Regions from separate parts of the Homo sapiens genome. Here region 2 is linked to region 1. Evidence: promoter capture Hi-C in human tissues and cell types (Jung and others, 2019). All regions are on one chromosome and are shown on one strand. The core of a region is centred on a gene start or on the middle of the fragment in contact, and the rest is flanking DNA. Distances in the headings are between cores, read along the strand shown. Region 1 holds the start of SLTM (SAFB like transcription modulator). Region 2 has its middle 23 kb from the start of GCNT3.

What was found. The method cuts DNA at HindIII sites, captures the fragments that hold promoters and counts their contacts. A contact is called where the count stands out against the background at its distance.
Region 2: a fragment that was not itself captured here is called in contact with the fragment with the promoter of SLTM in region 1 in 2 of the 25 tissues and cell types used here (hippocampus and lymphoblastoid cells).

Annotation. Positions count from the first base shown.
Region 1 is chr15:58,931,866-58,935,790 of GRCh38, reverse strand. It overlaps SLTM (SAFB like transcription modulator), which reads left to right and starts at 2,112. Exons shown (of 21, transcript NM_024755.4): 1 at 2,112-2,387; 2 at 3,348-3,435. The coding sequence starts at 2,226. RefSeq lists enhancers at 1,666-1,755, 1,776-1,915, 2,206-2,445 and silencers at 1,946-2,125, 2,496-2,755. The HindIII fragment of the contact is 29,686 bases long and covers 1-3,925 here.
Region 2 is chr15:59,587,277-59,591,201 of GRCh38, reverse strand. No RefSeq gene overlaps it. Among named protein-coding and RNA genes, the nearest start is that of GCNT3, 23 kb to the left of the region's middle. The HindIII fragment of the contact is 7,810 bases long and covers 1-3,925 here.

The DNA of each region.
Region 1 (3,925 bases), core at 863-3,362:
GGCAACAACGTGGTGAAACCCTGTCTCTACAAAAAATACAAAAATTAGCCAGGCATAGTGGCAGGCGCCTGTAGTCTAGCTATTCAGGAGGCTGAGGTGGGAGGATCACTTGAGCCTGGGAGGTTGAGGCTGCAGTGAGCCATGATCACGCCACTGCACTCCAGTCTGGGTGACACAGTGAGACCCTGTCAAAAGAATAAAAATAAAAACAAAAACAAAAAAAAGAGAGAGTGTAACTGTAAGTTCCCAGATAAATCTCTTAAAATCTTGAGGGCTGGGCCAGAAGATTTTTTTTTCTTTTTTTCTTTTTGAGACGGAGTCTAGCTCTGTTGCCCAGGCTGGAGTGCAATGGCGTGATCTCAGCTCACTACAACCTCCGCCTCCTGGGTTCAAGCGATTCTTCTGCCCCAGCCTCCCAAGTAGCTGGGATTACAGGTATGCACCACCATGCCCGGCTAATTTTTTGTATTTTTAGTAGAGATGGGGATTCACCATGTTGGCCAGGCTGGTCTTGAACTTCTGACCTCTAGTGATCCACCCACCTCAGCCTCCCAAAGTGCAGGGATTACAGGCATGAGCCACAGCACCCAGACTTTTTTTTTTTTTTTGAGACAGGATCTTGCTCTGTTGCCCAGGGTGGAGTGCAGCGGCCGGATCTCACTGCAACCCCTGCCTTCCGGGTTCAGGTGATTCTCCTGCCTCAGTCTCCCGAGTAGCGGGGATTACAGGTGCTCACCACCACACCCGGCTAATTTTTGTATTTTTTGTAGAGACGGGGTTTCTACTAAACCCTGTATCTTGGCCAGTTTGGTCTTGAACTCCTGACCTCAAGTGATGGGCCAGAAGATTTCTAAGGAGTCTTGCATTCTAAACTTCTATTATTGTGAATCCAATGTTGTAGCAGAGACAGAGCTGGATTTGGAATCAGGAGCCTGGGATTTGAGCACAGCTCGGCCACATACCAGCTGTGTGAACATGGGCAAGTCATTTAATCTCTCTAAGCCTCACGGAGATTTACTTGACAGACTTGGGAAGGATTAAGGGGGTTACTGTACGTCAAAGTGCCTTATAAACTGTAAAGAACTACCCTAATGTCAGGTATTCTTTTATAATGTCCAGTCTTCCTTTTTTTTGAGCCAATCAGAAAAAGTAACCTAAAGTGAGTCAGATCTCAGGAATTTAAGTTGTAAAACCAGGAAATACAGTATAGTTAATTGTGCATCATAATCACCTTATGGAATTTATAGAATCGTTTTATTTTATCAATGCTTGCACTTTGATAATGAATAATACAAGGTAAAATTACAAATAGGTACTCACTTGTACAGGCCGATCCTCCATAAGAAGATGCTCACTGTTCTTGGAATCCCAAATTTTGGGGGGCAAAATAGTGAACACAGTATATGATAACGGCAACAAGTACTTATAAGCTAGTTTTCTCTTTCATTGAACAATTTCGTGTTGAGCCATCAGGTCTACCGGGGAGGATAGCAAACCTGAGGCCAACAAGAAAGAAGTTTTCCTGTTTTTCAAGTGAGGAAGGGCAGCCCTAGAATAACCTAAGCTGCCATGGGCAGGGCGATGATGTTTTCTCCTGAGACAGCCAATGAGCCATGTGTCAAAGGCCAGCCCTTCCTATTCTTTGGACTAACAGCCCTAGAACTGCTTTGAGGTCTTTTGAATGGAACTCGGGGAACCTAGTTCGTTGGTGCACACCGGCGACAATTTTTCGATTATTCAGCAGAACTGATAAAGTATTTCCTTGAGAGGTTCAGCGCGCGCACGCGCCCCCTCGGTTTGTGTTGAGTAACGCGCGCACTATGTCATTCAGTGCCCGCACATCGTTGTTGCTCAAGACTCAAGACGTTGCAAGAAAATGGCTAACGAAGCGACGAGAGAACGGCGGCGCGGCGGACGTTGCTGCGGTAGGACGTGCCCGACCTCCCAGTCCACACAAGGGAGCGCACCGCCCAAGTGGCCGCGGCCCGCTCGACCGAGCGCGCCGCTGCCGGTCCCTGCGCCAACGCGCACGCGCGGCCGTCATCCGGGTGCTGGCGGCTGCTGCTGCAGGTTGCGCTAGGGTGGCGGACCGGGGGAGGGGCCAGCGGCTCATTGTGCGCAGCGCTGCGCGGCGCCGGCGGCCGCCGAGGCCTGGGTGGAAGTTGGCGCTGCTGCCGCCGCCCTGCAGCCCACTCGCTGCCTCGGCAGCGCGCTGCTCTTCTAAGATGGCTGCCGCTACCGGTGCGGTGGCAGCCTCGGCCGCCTCGGGTCAGGCGGAAGGTAAAAAGATCACCGATCTGCGGGTCATCGATCTGAAGTCCGAGCTGAAGCGGCGGAACTTAGACATCACCGGAGTCAAGACCGTGCTCATCTCCCGACTCAAGCAGGTGAGGCCCGGCGAGGACCGGAAAGGACCGGGAAGGGGAACTTAGGCCGCGCCTCGGCGCCCCGCTTCCGCCGCAGCCTCCGGCTGCCCGCAGCCGCTGGGACCTGCGGAACGGCATGGTAGGGAGGCCAGGGGCGGCTCCCGCGAGCGTGGAGGACGGGGACCCTTCCGCGGTGCCCCCGCCCCGCGCCCCGGGCCGGGCCGGGCCTGCGAGGGACCGGCCACCGCAGCCCAGCGTGCCTCCGCCTCCCCGGGACGTCCCCGCCAGGCTGCGAGGGTTGCGGCCGGCCGGCGCGGCCTCCCAAGGGCGATCGCGGAGACCTGGGAGGCGCTGGCTCCCCAGCCTTTAGCCATGGTGAGCGTGTGCATTTCTTGGCCTCAGAGGGAATGGTTACTTTGGTGACTTCTGCGAAGTTACCGTTTAATTGTGCCCAACCGTTTCTTCCCCATCTTGAGGGGGAATTGGTAGTGGGAGTTGATGGGTGGGTGACAGAGTTTTTGTTTTCCACTAGGCTTTTAGTTTTTGCATCAGCGCAATAATTACTTTTTCTTTCCTGATTAGCTTTCTGGTTTGAGTGAGCGTTGGAATTGTAGCAGAGGAGCAGTAAGTTTGCATTACAGAAACTAGGAAAACTCTTTTTAGTTATTTACTTTAGTAGCTAGCAACTTTTCTGCAATAGAACATATTTGGATTTTTGGCCAGTATGATGTGATATTTAATTATCTTGACACGGTAGAATTTAAAACTCCTTGCGATTTTGATACCTAATGATTTTTTTCCCCTGAAAGTTTCTCTCACTCTTTCGTGTAGTTTAATTGCTCATTTTTGAAGTCGGTTGATGAAATGACTGGCAATTCTAATGTCTTGAGGCTTGAGGTTTGCTAAATTTTTTTTCATTTCGTTTTTATAAAATAAGTTTAGATAGATTGTGTAGCATATTAACTTCTCTTTCTAATGTAGGCTATTGAAGAGGAAGGAGGCGATCCAGATAATATTGAATTAACTGTTTCAACTGATACTCCAAACAAGAAACCAACTAAAGGCAAAGGTTGTTACGAGTTATGAACATGTTTTAAAATATATTTTGGTTATATAACTTGCCTCTGCTCTTGTGCCTCTTGCCCTGTTTATATAGTGCTACTCTTTGCTATTTCCCTCTGGCAGTCTGCCTTCTTGGGTCAAGGAAGAAAAGTTACTGTTGCCAGGCTTTGGGTGACTTGTAGCCCTTAAGATTCGGCTGAAGCTGATTAGAAAGTGAGAACAGTTCTTTATTGCTTCCGGAAAAAATTACAAAGTCAAGTTGTGTAATGATGCTTCATAGTGTGAAGACCTGAATAAAATACAGTTTAACACATGTCTACCTTGCCCCACAATTGGCAGAGTTTTGATGGAATTCCTACCAAATCTTTTACCTTGCCTCCTTGCTGTTTTCTTTAGTATATTAAAATTCTATAACCTTTATGTTTAGTACTTTGTTTGACTTGGTGAACTTAATTTGCATTTATGCCATTATACCTCCTAATTTTTAGTGAAATTCA
Region 2 (3,925 bases), core at 602-3,101, 660 kb before region 1:
ACTTGTCTTCTCTGGGTCTCAGTTTCCTCAGGGTGTAGAAACTGGAACCCCTAAACCTAAATCTAAAAGACAAGCTCTTTCAGATCAGAAATTCTGTGATGCTGCTCCCTGGCATCTTTGTCTGGGAGGAACATGTCAGAACCATGTTTTGAGAATCCTTAGTTGGTAGCAGAGCTCAGCAAGGATGAAAGGATGGCACAAAAGGCAGGAAGTAGCTGGGCACAGTGGCTCACACCTGTAATCCCAGCAGTCTGGGAGGCCAAGGCAGGTAGATCCCTGAGGTCAGGAGTTCGAGACCAGCCTGACCAACATGGTGAAACCCCATCTTTTTTTTTTTTTTTTTGAGACGGAGTCTCGCCCTGTTGCCCAGGCTGGAGTGCAATGGCGCAATCTTGATTCACTGCAACCTCCGCCTCCCATGTTCCAGTGATTCTCCTGCCTCAGCCTCCCCAGTAGCTGGGATTTACAGGTGCATGCCACCACACCTGGCTAATTTTTTGTATCTTTTGTAGAGATGGGGTTTCACCATGTTGGCCAGGCTGGTCTCAAACTCCTGACCTCGTGATCCACCCACTTTGGCCTCCCAAAGTGCTAGGATTACAGGCGTGAGTCACCACGCCCAGCTGAAACCCCATCTCTACTAAAAATATAAAAATTAGCTGGGCATGGTGGCATGCGCCTGTAGTCCCAGCTACTTGGGAGGCTGAGACAGGAGAATTGCTTAAACCCAGGATGCAGAGGTTGCACTGAGCCAAGATAGCGCCACTGCACTCCAGCCTGGGTGACTCAGCGAGACTCCGTCTCAAAAAACAAAAAAAGAAACAAAGAAAAAGAAAAAAGAAAGGCAGGAAGTGAAGAGGCTAGCTGGGGAGATACTGCAATAGTTCGGGTAGAAATGGTGAGGACCCTACCAGATCAGTGATGCTAGGGATACGCTGACCGGGTTGTGAGAGACAAGAAGGATCTAAAAGCACCACACAGATATGAGAAAAATTGAAAGCCAAATCTGAAAGGTAGGAGCCTCATGACGCAAGTTTCACAATGACTTTTTCTTCTTTTTTGGCTCTGTCACCCAGGCTGGAGTGCAATACTATGATCTCAGTTCACTGCAACCTCTGTCTCCAGGGTTCAAGTCATTCTCCTGCCTTAGCCTCTCGAGTAGCTAGGATTACAGGCACACGCCACCACGCCCAACTAATTTTTGCGGAATTTCGCCATGTTGGCCAGGCTGGTCTCGAACTCCTGACCTCAAGTGATCTGCCCACCTTGGCCTCCCAAAGTTCTGGGATTACAGGCATGAGCTGCTGTGCCTGGCCAACAATGACATTTTGAGCTAGATAATTCTTTGTTGTAAAGAGCTATCCTGTTCATCGTAGGATATGCAGCATCATCTATAGCCTCCACCCATAATATGCCAGCAGATACCACCTCCTACCCCGAGCTGTGGCCAAAAATGTCTCCAGACAATGTCAAATGTACCCTAGGGAGACAAAATCACCCCTGGTTGACAACCATAATCAGGGAGAATGTACCTTTGACTTGAAGATCTTGTTTGGTAGAGATACAAGTAATTTATGCCCAGTAGAAGAGAAATGCCCAAATATTATGATTGGCAGCCCCAGCTCATGTCAGCCCAGAGAGAAAAGTCGATCATGCTAGATTATAATTTTCACAGAAGTTTAAAACTTGACTCTTTACTAATATGCATTGAAGATGTCAAAAACTTACTCAACTTACTAATTAATGAGGGAAGAAGTAAGATAGTAAAGCTGATTCAAAGGGCACCTTGAGAAACGAAATATTTGTAGACATTTATAAAAGAATGTTGGAATAAAGTTCCTAGCTTAGACATAGAACTGGCTAATGCCTTATAGGGCCATATAAAATCGTAACATTTGAGCCCTTCTCTTCTACCGGATATACATTATTTGTATCTCTACCAAACAAGATCTGCAAGTTAACATATACTTTTACTGAGCTTGAGTTAGCTAAAGCTAGACACAGTGCTTTCCGGCCATTTAACATGTTTATTATTAGCAAATAGCAAAGTCAAAGGTGCATTCTCCCTGATCAGTGGTTCTCAACCAGGGGTGATTTCGCCTCCCTAGGGCACATTTGACATTGTCTGGAGACATTTTTGGTCACAGGAGGTGGTGTCTGCTGGCATCTTGTGCGTGGAGGCCATAGATGATGCTGCACATCCTACAATGAACAGGATAGCTCTTTACAACTAAGAATTATCCAGCTCAAAATGTCACTGGTGTGAAGACTGAGAAGCTTTGCCCTAGATAATTAAAACATCCTTAGGGCCGGGCACAGTGGCTCACGCCTGTAATCCCAATACTTTGGGAGGCCGAGGTGGGTGGATCACTTGAGGTCAGGAGTTCAAGACCAGCCTGCCAACATGGTGAAACCCCATCTCTAATAGAAATACAAAAATTAGCCTGATGTGGTGGCAGGTGCCTGTAATCTCAGCTACTCCGGAGGCTGAGGCAGGAGAATAGCTTGAACCTGGGAGGCAAATGTTGCAGTGAGCCGAGACTGTACCGCTGCACTCCAGCCTCGGTGACAGAGCAAGACACCACCTCAAAAAAAAAAAAAAAAAAAAAAAATGGCCAGGTGCCTGTAATCCCAGCACTTTGGGAGGCTGAGGTGGGTGGATCACGAGGTCAGGAGTTGGAGACCAGCCTGACCCACATGGTGAAACCCCATCTCTACCAAAAATAAGATTAGCCAGGTGTGGTGGTGCACGCCTGTAAACCCAGCCAACTTAGGAGGCTGAAGCAGGAAAATCACTTGAACCGGGTGGTGGAGCTTGCAGTGAGCTGAGATCACACCATTGCACTCCAGCCTGAGTGACATAGAGAGACTGTGTCTCAAAAAAATAAATAAATAAAAATCCTTGGATGCCCTTATCTGATACTGCAAGACTATGCTATGCTGCCCAACTTTCTCATTTCCAGCTTTTAAATAATTTTTCTTAATGGTAATGTTCAACCATCTATTTTCCAAGGAAAGTAAACTTCTCCCTTTCACAAATATTTCACTTGAGTTTTTATTTGTTTTTGTTTGTTTGAGGGTTTTTTGTTGGTTTGTTTTTTGAGACAGGATCTCACTCTGTTGCCCAGGCTGGATGGAGAGCAGTGGCGGGATCTCAGCTCACTGCAATCTCCACCTCCCAGGCTCAAGAGAGTCTCCCCAGAGCAAGACTCCGTCTCAAAAAAAAAAAAAAAAAAAAAAAAAAAACAGAGTCTCCCACCTTCCCACCTCAGCCTCCCGAGTAGCTGAGACTACAGGCATGTGCCACCATGCCCAGCTAATTTTTTTGCCTGGCTGTTTTTTGTATTTTTTGGTAGAGATGAGGTTTCACCATGTTCACCAGGCTGGTCTCAAATTCCTGACTTCAAGTGATCTGCCTGCTTTGGCCTCTCAAAGTGCCAAGATTACAGGCATGAGCCACCACCCCCTCAGCACTCACCTGAGTATTTTTTAAAAGGTTTTCTACCTAATCCGAAGGACATTAGAAAAAAATCAATTAAGCAAGACAACCACCCCCACTTCCTGGGAAATTTATCTTATTGCAATCTTACTGCAGTAGTCATTCAAAGGCTGCGATTTTTCCAGGAAGCATGATAGTGCCCACAGATTTCTTAAAAACAAGAATAGTCAAAGAAAACAAACAAAAATTTTAAAAGTAGTTCAGATATAATTGGGGAAAGCTGGCAGTAGGGGCAGAGGTACAGGTTACAGGGAGAACAGCAGGGAGAAGACAGGTGCCAATGACAGCCCTAGCTGATGCAATCTGAACCCATCATCTTCCCTCAAGTGCTGAGCATAAATCCCAGAAATGAACCAGGAAGCAATAAATATTTATTGCTATGAAATTAAAAGCTCTCTTGTGTAGTAGAAAGATACCAAGGGCTGG